Regions from separate parts of the Homo sapiens genome. Here region 1 is linked to region 2. The links are contacts of gene promoters, found by promoter capture Hi-C in human tissues and cell types (Jung and others, 2019). All regions are on one chromosome and are shown on one strand. The core of a region is centred on a gene start or on the middle of the fragment in contact, and the rest is flanking DNA. Distances in the headings are between cores, read along the strand shown. Region 1 overlaps RIC8A (RIC8 guanine nucleotide exchange factor A). Region 2 holds the start of AP2A2 (adaptor related protein complex 2 subunit alpha 2).

Region 1 (4,685 bases), core at 16-2,515, 710 kb before region 2:
CCCAGCACTTTGGGAGACTGAGGCAGGTAGATCACAAGGTCAGGAGATCGAGACCATCCTGGCCAACATGGTGAAACCCCATCTCTGCTAAAATACAAAAAAAAAGTTAGCTGGGCGTGGTGGTGGGCGCCTGTAGTCCCAGCTGCTCGGGAGGTTGAGGCAGGGGAATCACTTGAACCCAGGAGGCAGAGCTTGCAGTGAGCTGACATTGTGCCACCGCACTCCAGCCTGGCAACAGAGTGAGACTTCGTCTCAAAAAAAAAAAAGAGACTAATGTCGCCAGATTTATTGGAGATGGCCCAGTGTCCAAATTAAGAGCCTGCTTAAGGCCAATTTAGATGTTTAAAATAGGAAACTGCTTAAAGCCAGGAGGCAGCAGTTAGGGTTTGGGCCCAGTTAACAGAAGGTCCAACCAGGCTTCCCCAGTAAATGGGAGCAGCCTACTTGGTAGAGAGGAAGGTAGCAGCCACGGGTGAGTAGGACCCCTGCCTGGCCAACTGGGCCCCTTCCCCAGCCCCACTGCACCTTTCCCCAACAGGAACAGAGTCATCCAGCCAATGGGGATGAGTCCCCGGGGTCATCTTACGTCCCTGCAGGATGCCATGTGCGAGACTATGGAGCAGCAGCTCTCCTCGGACCCTGACTCGGACCCTGACTGAGGATGGCAGCTCTTCTGCTCCCCCATCAGGACTGGTGCTGCTTCCAGAGACTTCCTTGGGGTTGCAACCTGGGGAAGCCACATCCCACTGGATCCACACCCGCCCCCACTTCTCCATCTTAGAAACCCCTTCTCTTGACTCCCGTTCTGTTCATGATTTGCCTCTGGTCCAGTTTCTCATCTCTGGACTGCAACGGTCTTCTTGTGCTAGAACTCAGGCTCAGCCTCGAATTCCACAGACGAAGTACTTTCTTTTGTCTGCGCCAAGAGGAATGTGTTCAGAAGCTGCTGCCTGAGGGCAGGGCCTACCTGGGCACACAGAAGAGCATATGGGAGGGCAGGGGTTTGGGTGTGGGTGCACACAAAGCAAGCACCATCTGGGATTGGCACACTGGCAGAGCCAGTGTGTTGGGGTATGTGCTGCACTTCCCAGGGAGAAAACCTGTCAGAACTTTCCATACGAGTATATCAGAACACACCCTTCCAAGGTATGTATGCTCTGTTGTTCCTGTCCTGTCTTCACTGAGCGCAGGGCTGGAGGCCTCTTAGACATTCTCCTTGGTCCTCGTTCAGCTGCCCACTGTAGTATCCACAGTGCCCGAGTTCTCGCTGGTTTTGGCAATTAAACCTCCTTCCTACTGGTTTAGACTACACTTACAACAAGGAAAATGCCCCTCGTGTGACCATAGATTGAGATTTATACCACATACCACACATAGCCACAGAAACATCATCTTGAAATAAAGAAGAGTTTTGGACAAAAATGTATGTGTAAATTATCAAATAAAGGGGCCAGGCACAGTGGCTCATGCCTGTAATCCCAGCACTTTGGGAGGCCGAGGTGGGTGGATCACTTGAAGCCAGGAGTTCGAGACCAGCCTGGCCAACATAGCAAAACCTTGTCTCTATTACAAATATGCCCATGTGCTAGGTGTGGTGGGACACACCTGTAATCCCAGCTACCCAGGAGAATCGCTTAAACCCGGGAGGCGGAAGTTGCAGTGAGCTGAGATCATAACACCGCACTCCACCCTGAGTGACAGGGCAAGACTCAAAAAATAAAAAAGGAACATTAACTAGGGTTAGAAACTAACTTCATTCTTTTTAGAATTCAACAGTTTTCCTAGGTCACCAATTCCACCTTTTGTTCTTATTAAGGCGCAAAGTCACAGGACCCCCTTCCTGGGAGTCACTGTCATTAAATCTATTGCCGTCAGCTCAGCCCAGGGTAGGCAAGGTTCAAGAATGGGAAGTGCTTTTGTCTGGGGAAACACGCAGGTAATGTGATGCTAGGAAGGAGGATGTGCAGGTGGGTGAGAGCCCAGGAGGGAGCAGCTGGTGCCTGACAGGGTGAGCCATCAGGGCTGGGCCTGGGTACAGCCCCAGGAGAAGGAGCCTGTGCAGAAGTAGCAGTTCAGTGGATTCCACCTCCTATGTCACAATCCAGCAGGTGGCCAGGACTCAGCCTGGGTTTTAAGTGAGTAATGCCTTCCCTGTCTCAGAGATTAGCTCTAACAGTGTCACTAGAGGAAGCCCTGGCGAGGGTGGGGGGGCGTAGTGTGGGGACAAGGAGGCCAGATAGAAAGTGCTGGAATGTTCTGGAACAGATCTGTTTCTGGAGGAGAGGCTGAGTATGGAGAGTCAACAGAATGTGACCACCTTCAGAGGGAGGAGCTGGGCCGTCTCCAATAAATCCAGGGACAAATGCCTTCAGTCCTCAGACTGTTCCAATAGAGGGGACGCCACGTATCCCAGGGTTCCCTTTCCAACTCATGTCAACACCTGCAGTCCCTTTGAGGAGACTAAATGTATTTCATGCTGGAAAGAACAGATTTTCTCTCATTAAAAATAGCCCCACTAAAGGAGACCAACATGCTAGAAGTGCGGCACCAGGGCCTCAAGACTACACTTCGGAACATGAAGAGGGCTGGGGACCGCTCGGCCCAAGTCTGGATCTTGTAACCAACAGATGCCGAGCTTGCCGTTCAACTAGGCACAGAAAGCAGACTCGGTCTGGGATTCCAGTTGGTCTGATTCAGTTCAAGAGGGTCACAGTCAGAAGAAAGCTTTTTCCATTAGGAGCTTCAGCAGAGTGAAGAGTTCAACACAGCAAACAGGCAGGCAGCTCCTTTGTATATGTGACGGGGTGGCCCTGACTGTAAACACAGCCCTACCAGTCACTGCAGCTCATGGCCTGAGAAGACATTCCAGTGGCAGCCTCGGGTGTCCACTCAGTTCACATATTCTGGTTTCACCTGCCCAAGCTGTCTTCAGGCATGAGGTCTTGTCAGAATTGGGATGTGGATGTCTCCTATGTTACCATTTATTGTGTGGGGGCAGCCATCATCCTATTTGTCTGGTCCATCAAGCTGGAATACAGAAGACAGAGGGTATCAGCTATCTGTTTACACACCCAGGCAGGCCAGCAGATCTCTGTTCAAACAGCTCTAGCTGCAGACATGCAAAATATTTCACAAAACAAGCTGCTTTCTGCAAATACTGCTGCTGCTGTGCTGGGCTAAGAGGATCCCAGCAGGCCTGGGCAGAACAGGGTGGCTAAATGGAGAGCCTCATTCTATGGGTCTTAAAGTACCCAAATCAATATGTACTGATGCTCATGTGCTTAAAAGCATTCACTATTTGGAAAAGTAACCCCTTGGATAGTAATGCTGTAAAAAACAGAAAATGAAATCATAACCCATTTTACATACATTTCTCTGAAACTAGATTATACAGTTCAAATCCTATTAAGCCACTTCCAAAACTCCACAGGAGCTACCAGAGTTACAATCTGCTTTTCTATGAAAACAGGAAGTTGGGCCGGGCCTGCTGGCTCATGCCTATAATCCCAGCACTTTGGGAGGCTGAGGCAGGTGGATCACCCGAGGTCAGGAGTTTGAGACCAGCCTGACTAACATGATGAAATCCCATCTCTAATAAAAGTACAGAAATTAGCCAGGCATGGTGGCACATGCCTGTAATCCCAGCTGCTCAGGAGGCTGAGGCAGGAGAATCACTTGAACCCAGGAGGCAGGGCTGCAGTGAGCCAAAATCGTGCCATTGCACTCCAGCTTGGGCAACAAGAGTGAAACTCCATTACAAAAAAAAGAAAATATGAAGTTGGAGCAGGAAAAGGATCCCTCAAAAAAGCCTGCTGGGCTGATCTAAGATCTCCGCTGCCTTGTGAGCTGGCCAGGAGGCACTCGCCTCTCAGCGTTTAAGCCTCATTGTTAGCTGGGTTCCCTGCCTCCATAATGAAGTGACCATGATTGGTAAAAAATCAGCCTGCAACCAGAGGTTGGAGGTCTTGGACTGGTGGAGGTGAGGAGAGTGCTGACCCCATGGCCCTGAGCCATGAGGCAGCCACAGCTGTGGACAAGGAAAAAGGATCAGGATTTCCTAAGACATCTGCCTTGGAAGGCAAGAGGAGCATCAACTGTGATATATTGTAGTTGATATGGTTTGGCTGTGTCCCCACCCAAATCTCACCTTGAATTGTAATCATCCCCATGTGTCAAGGGTGGGGCCAAGTGGAAGTAACTGAATCATGGGGGCGGGTCTTTCCCACACTCTTCTTCTGATAGTGAATAAGTCTCACAAGATCTGATAGTTTTATAAAGGGCAGTTCCCCCGCACACGTCCTCTTGCCTGCCACCTTGTAAGACAGTACTTTGCTCCTGCTTTGCCTTCCACTATGATTGTGAGGCCCCCACAGCCATATGGAACTGTGAGTCCATTAAACCTCTTTCCTTTATAAATTACCCAGTCTCAGGTATGCCTTTATGAGCAGCCAGAGAACAGACTAATACACTGGTGAAATCCCCTTTGGACAGTGTTACACCTGCCTGTAATCATGACACTGGACTTTAAATGCTTAATGCTACCACCTCCCATTGAAAACCCTTAATATCAAGGCTACACATGCTACATGATTCTTATGGGAAACTGCATTTTCTGTAACTTCACTTGTTTATAGGCGGTTTGAAATCTCTTAGAAAGCATCAAGGCTCTTTGGCTTTCCTCAGCG
Region 2 (4,517 bases), core at 1,416-3,915:
AGGCTGAGGCAGGAGAATCGCTTGAATCCGGGAGGTGGAGGTTGCAGTGAGCCGAGATCATGCCATTGCACTCCAGCCTGGGCGACAGAGCAAGACTCCATCTCAAGGAAGAAAAAAAAAAAAAAAGAAAGATACTGAGGCTAGGCACAGTGGCTTGTAATCTCAGCACTTTGGGAAGCCAAGGCAGGAGGACTGCTTGAGCCCAGGAGTTCAAGACCAGCCTGGGCAACATAGTGAGACTCCATCTCCACAAAAATCAGAAACTTAGCCAGGTGTGGTGGCGTGCACCTGCAGTCTAAGCACTTTGGGAGCCAAGGCAGGAGGATGGTTTGAGCCCAGAAGGTCGAGGCTGTAGTGATTCATGATTGTACCACTGCACTCCAGCCTGGGAGTCAAAGGGAGAAACCCTGTCTCTAAAATTAAACATAAATAAATAAATAAATAGGCCAGGCATAGTGGCTTGCATCTGTAATCCCAGCACTTTGGGAGACACAGGCAGGCGGAATGCTGGGATTACAGGAGTTCAAGACCGGCCTGGGCACCGTGGTGAAATGCCATCACTACAAAAAATAAAATAAAGAAAAAGAAACTGTTTCCTAGGACTGCGCACTCCCGAAGCTGGCCTCTCCCGAGCCGAGGAGTGGCAGTGGTCAGAGAGGCCCACATGGACTCAGACCCAAGGCTGGGACTGGAGTGAATCATCTGGAGGGCTTGCGTGTCTGCAAGGGCAACGACGCTGGAAGGAGGTGGGAAGTCTTTTGCATGGCTGCATGTCGGGCCTTCTGGGACCCCTAAACACTCTTGTGTGGACGGGAGGATGTCTGTGGGAATCCCAGAGCTGGCACTGAGGAGGAGTCTTCCGAGTGGGCGGAGGGGGATGCCTGCCAGGCCCAAGCCCTCCTGTGGGCAGCCCCTGCAGCACCCCCATTGCCCTGCTCTGTGAGTGGCTGCTGGTGGGGGGGCACAGTGGTCTGCTTGTCTCGGTCTTCTGCACTGCCACTGCCAATGGGAGCTTGGATTAGGCATGCCAGCCTCCTGACGCCCAGAGCCCATGCTCTGCCCACGTGTGTTAGTGGACGGTCCTCGTGACTGCTGGGACTGTCCTGGAGAGCAGCCCAGGACCCCTCACATGGCACAAGATGCTCTTGTGTCCAGAATGGCCTTTATTTGTTGTCAGGGACAGGGGAGGGAAGCTTCTTGGTGGAAGGGAGAGGCTGAAGAATGAACAGCCCCGGGACCACTTTCTCTGCCAGGAGGTGGCACTGGGAGAGGATAGGGACTCCGGAGGGGTGTACCGTCCTCCAGGAAGCCCTCTGCTGGGTCGGCTCCGTGCCTCTGTCTTGGGAAGTGATGGACTTGGTTGCCTTATGCTGACTGGGGTCTGTCACAGATCTTGGTTTTCCCCAGGAGTTCTGGAGGCCCAGAGCCTGGGTGCGGCACCCGGTTCATTGGGGAGGGGCATGGGTCCTGTGCCCTCCTCCTGGCCGGGCTCCACCAGGGCTAAGCTCTCATCTGGGGCTGCGGAAGTGAGCCAGGGTGGGGACAAAGCCCTGGCTGGTGGGTCTGGGCCAGTTCCAGGTACAGGGTCCAGATCCCCCCACTGCAGCAGGAGGGAGCTTCCTGTTCAAAGCCATCTGGCTCTGGGAAGGACAGTGAGGCAGGGCCATCTGCTTCCCCACTCCCTGGGGTCTCTTCCTGGCCGGGACCTGGAGCTGTGCAGCCTGGCCCAGCAGGTCCTCCCTTGCGATGTGTCCACAGGGGTGGGCCTAGGCCTCCAGCTTGCAGTGGTGCAGAGGGCTGGGGAGCAGAGGGGGCCCTGGCAACAGTGGCCAAAAGTCCTGGCGCCGCCGAGGGACTAGATTCCGCAGGGGCTGCCGCCCCCGGCCGCTGTCACTGGGGTGGGGTGGGTGGTTGTTTCTCTGCAGGCCCAGGTGATGTGGAGGGGGCACCTGGGCTGCCACACAGACCCTGGGCTGGGTCGGGCACGGGGCCTGCCTCGCCCCCAGCTCAGGGACCGCAAGAGATGTGGCCCTGGCGGCTCAGGGCGGCAGGAGGGGCGGGCCAGCCCCACCGTCTCAGGATACCGTGCTAGGGGAGGGTTTCCTCGCCAAAGGCCGTCCAGCGGCTGTGACCCCTTCGCCTGGAGCCCCAGCTTCCTCCCGGCGCCGCCCTCCCGCCCCGGCCCCCGCGGAACAAACAAGGCCCTGGCCTCGGAGCTGCCCCGCCGCCCAGCGCTCACAGGTCGTTTATTCCAAGTAAGAAAACGGAGACTGCTCGGGGCAAGCTAGCGGGGCCGAGGCCCAGGACGAGGCCGTACGCGTGTGCCTGCGTGGCCGCCTCTTTTGCAGTGACCACCAACAACGACAGAGGCGGCCCGCTGCACACGCGGGTTCCCGCCCGGACCCACGCCCTTCCCGTGGGGGACGCGGGCGGCATCGCCAGCTTGGCGCGGCCCCGGGACGCGAACGCGTGGCTTCAGCGGCTCCGTCCATGGTGTCCGCCTGCAGGGGGCGCCCCCGCGCCTGCCTCGACCGGCTCGCCCCCGTGCCGCGGACGCGCGCGCGCTGCCTCACGCGACACCCGCCCCGGCCGCCGTCCGTCGTCGCTCGCGTGCGTGCGCGTGCGTGCTGGTGCGGGCGCCGTACGTGCGCGCGCGCGGCGGCCCAGAAAGCGGCGCTGGGACCCTGAGGCGGCCGTGGTTAGGCGGCTCCCCGGCGGCTCCTCCGCGGCGGTGACGGCGACCGCACTCCCCGCTTCCCGCTCCCCGCGCTCCTCCGCCCGGGTCCGCCAGCCGAGGCCGCTCCCGAGCGTCGGAAGATGCCGGCCGTGTCCAAGGGGGACGGGATGCGGGGCCTGGCGGTCTTCATCTCGGATATCCGCAACTGTGAGTGGCGGGGGCGGCGTGGGGCCGGGGCCGGGGCCGCCGGCGGAGACGGGGTCTGGGAGCGGAGGCCCGGGGCGGGGCCTCGAGGCGGGGGTGCAGGCTGGGATGCGGGCGGGGCCCGGGGCCTGAGGGTGCGGGCGGCGCTCGGGGTCTTGGGGTACCGGGTCTGGGGGTGGGGGCCAGGGTGCGGGGTGGGGGTCCAGGGTCTGGGGGTGCGGGCGGCGCTCAGAGTCTTGGGGTATCGGGTATGGGGGTGCGGGTCAGGATGCAGAGCGGGGCCCTGGGTCTGGGGGTGCGGGGTGGGGTGTCCAGGGTCTAGGGGTGCGGGGTCTAGGGGTTTAGGGCACGGCCCTTCATCCACATCTCCACTCCCGTTTGCTGGTCCGTGCGGGGGGCTGCGGCACCACCAAGGGGGTTCCGGGCCAAGACGCCCCTCCCCAGCATGATGTCACCTTGGTCTTTCTAGTACTGGAGCGTTTAACCCAGCGTTTTCCAAAACGGCGTGGATTTTAGCTTTGGGAGCAGAAATCTGGAAATCAGTGTCTTCCCAGGAAACAGCTTTGTGACCTGGGTTCTGGAGGCTTATTAACCCCTGATTAGATCTCACCTACGACGATTAAAATGACTCATTCCCGGAGGGAATCTGGACACGAGCAGCAGTCGGGGTGTGGGATGGCCTCGCTGCCTGCTGCTCCAATCACAGACCTCGTTCTCAGCCCCGTGCCTGTCCCCTCGGGGTGGGAAAAATCCACACCAAACCGTTAAACAAGCCAGGAAGGCTGGGCCTGTTAGAAGGATGTGCAGGGTGGCTGGGTGGGTGCACCGGTCCACCAATTAATTTGACTTTGGTGTGCAGAACCTCCTCTTGGCTTTCAGAGGCCATCTCCTTATTTAATTTGAGGGAGAAACAAAGCCAGTTTCCTGTCTGCTGCGTTGATTTTTTTCCTTGTTATCCAGCAAATAGTTGACTTCATGATTTTTGTTTTTCTTTTTTTTGAGACAGGGTCTTGCTCTGGCTCTCAGGCTGGAGCGCAGTAGTTCCATCACGGCGCACTCAACCTCCCACCTCAAGTGATCCTACCACCTCAGCCTCCGGAGTCACTGGGACTACAAGCGTGCACCACCACCATGCCTGGCTGATTTTCGTGTTTTTTGTAGAGATGGGGGGGTCTCGCCATGTTGCCTAGGCTGGTCTCGAAATCCTGAGCTCAAGTGATCCACCTGTCTTGGCCTCCCAAAGTCCTGGGGTTACTGGCGTGAGCCACGGCACCCTCATAATTTTTAATGTGTATTTTGAGGGACTGTTGTGATCTTCCCTTTGAATTCTCATCTCCTTAGACGGGATGGAGGATCAGGAGGATAGTGGTTCTCCCACACTCTGTGGAAGGGTAGAGGACCATCTAACCCTTCCTGTACTCTGTTAAAAAAAAAAAAAAAAAGCATAGAGCTGGGTGCGGTGGCTCAAACCTATAGTCCCAGCATTTTGGGAGGCTGAGGCAGGTGGATCTTTTGAGCCCAGAAGTTTGAGACCAGCCTGGGCAATGTGGTAACACCCTGTCTCTACAAAAAAATACGAAAATTAGCTGGGCGTATTGGTGTACACATCTATAGTCCCAGCTACTTGGGAGGCTGA

The links. Contacts are between HindIII fragments. The study calls those that stand out against the background at their distance.
Region 1: a contact is called between a fragment that was not itself captured here and the fragment with the promoter of AP2A2 in region 2, in 2 of the 25 tissues and cell types used here (heart left ventricle and liver).

The regions. Positions count from the first base shown.
Region 1 is chr11:213,692-218,376 of GRCh38, forward strand. It overlaps RIC8A (RIC8 guanine nucleotide exchange factor A), which reads left to right. Exons shown (of 10, transcript NM_001286134.2): 10 at 539-1,422. The coding sequence ends at 659. SIRT3 (sirtuin 3) reads right to left here. Exons shown (of 7, transcript NM_012239.6): 7 at 1,339-3,027. The coding sequence ends at 3,007. Among named protein-coding and RNA genes, the nearest start is that of MIR6743, 6.7 kb to the left of the region's middle. The HindIII fragment of the contact is 6,100 bases long and covers 1-4,315 here.
Region 2 is chr11:923,205-927,721 of GRCh38, forward strand. It overlaps AP2A2 (adaptor related protein complex 2 subunit alpha 2), which reads left to right and starts at 2,666. Exons shown (of 22, transcript NM_012305.4): 1 at 2,666-2,884. The coding sequence starts at 2,818. RefSeq lists a silencer at 2,478-3,017. The HindIII fragment of the contact is 16,179 bases long and covers 1-4,517 here.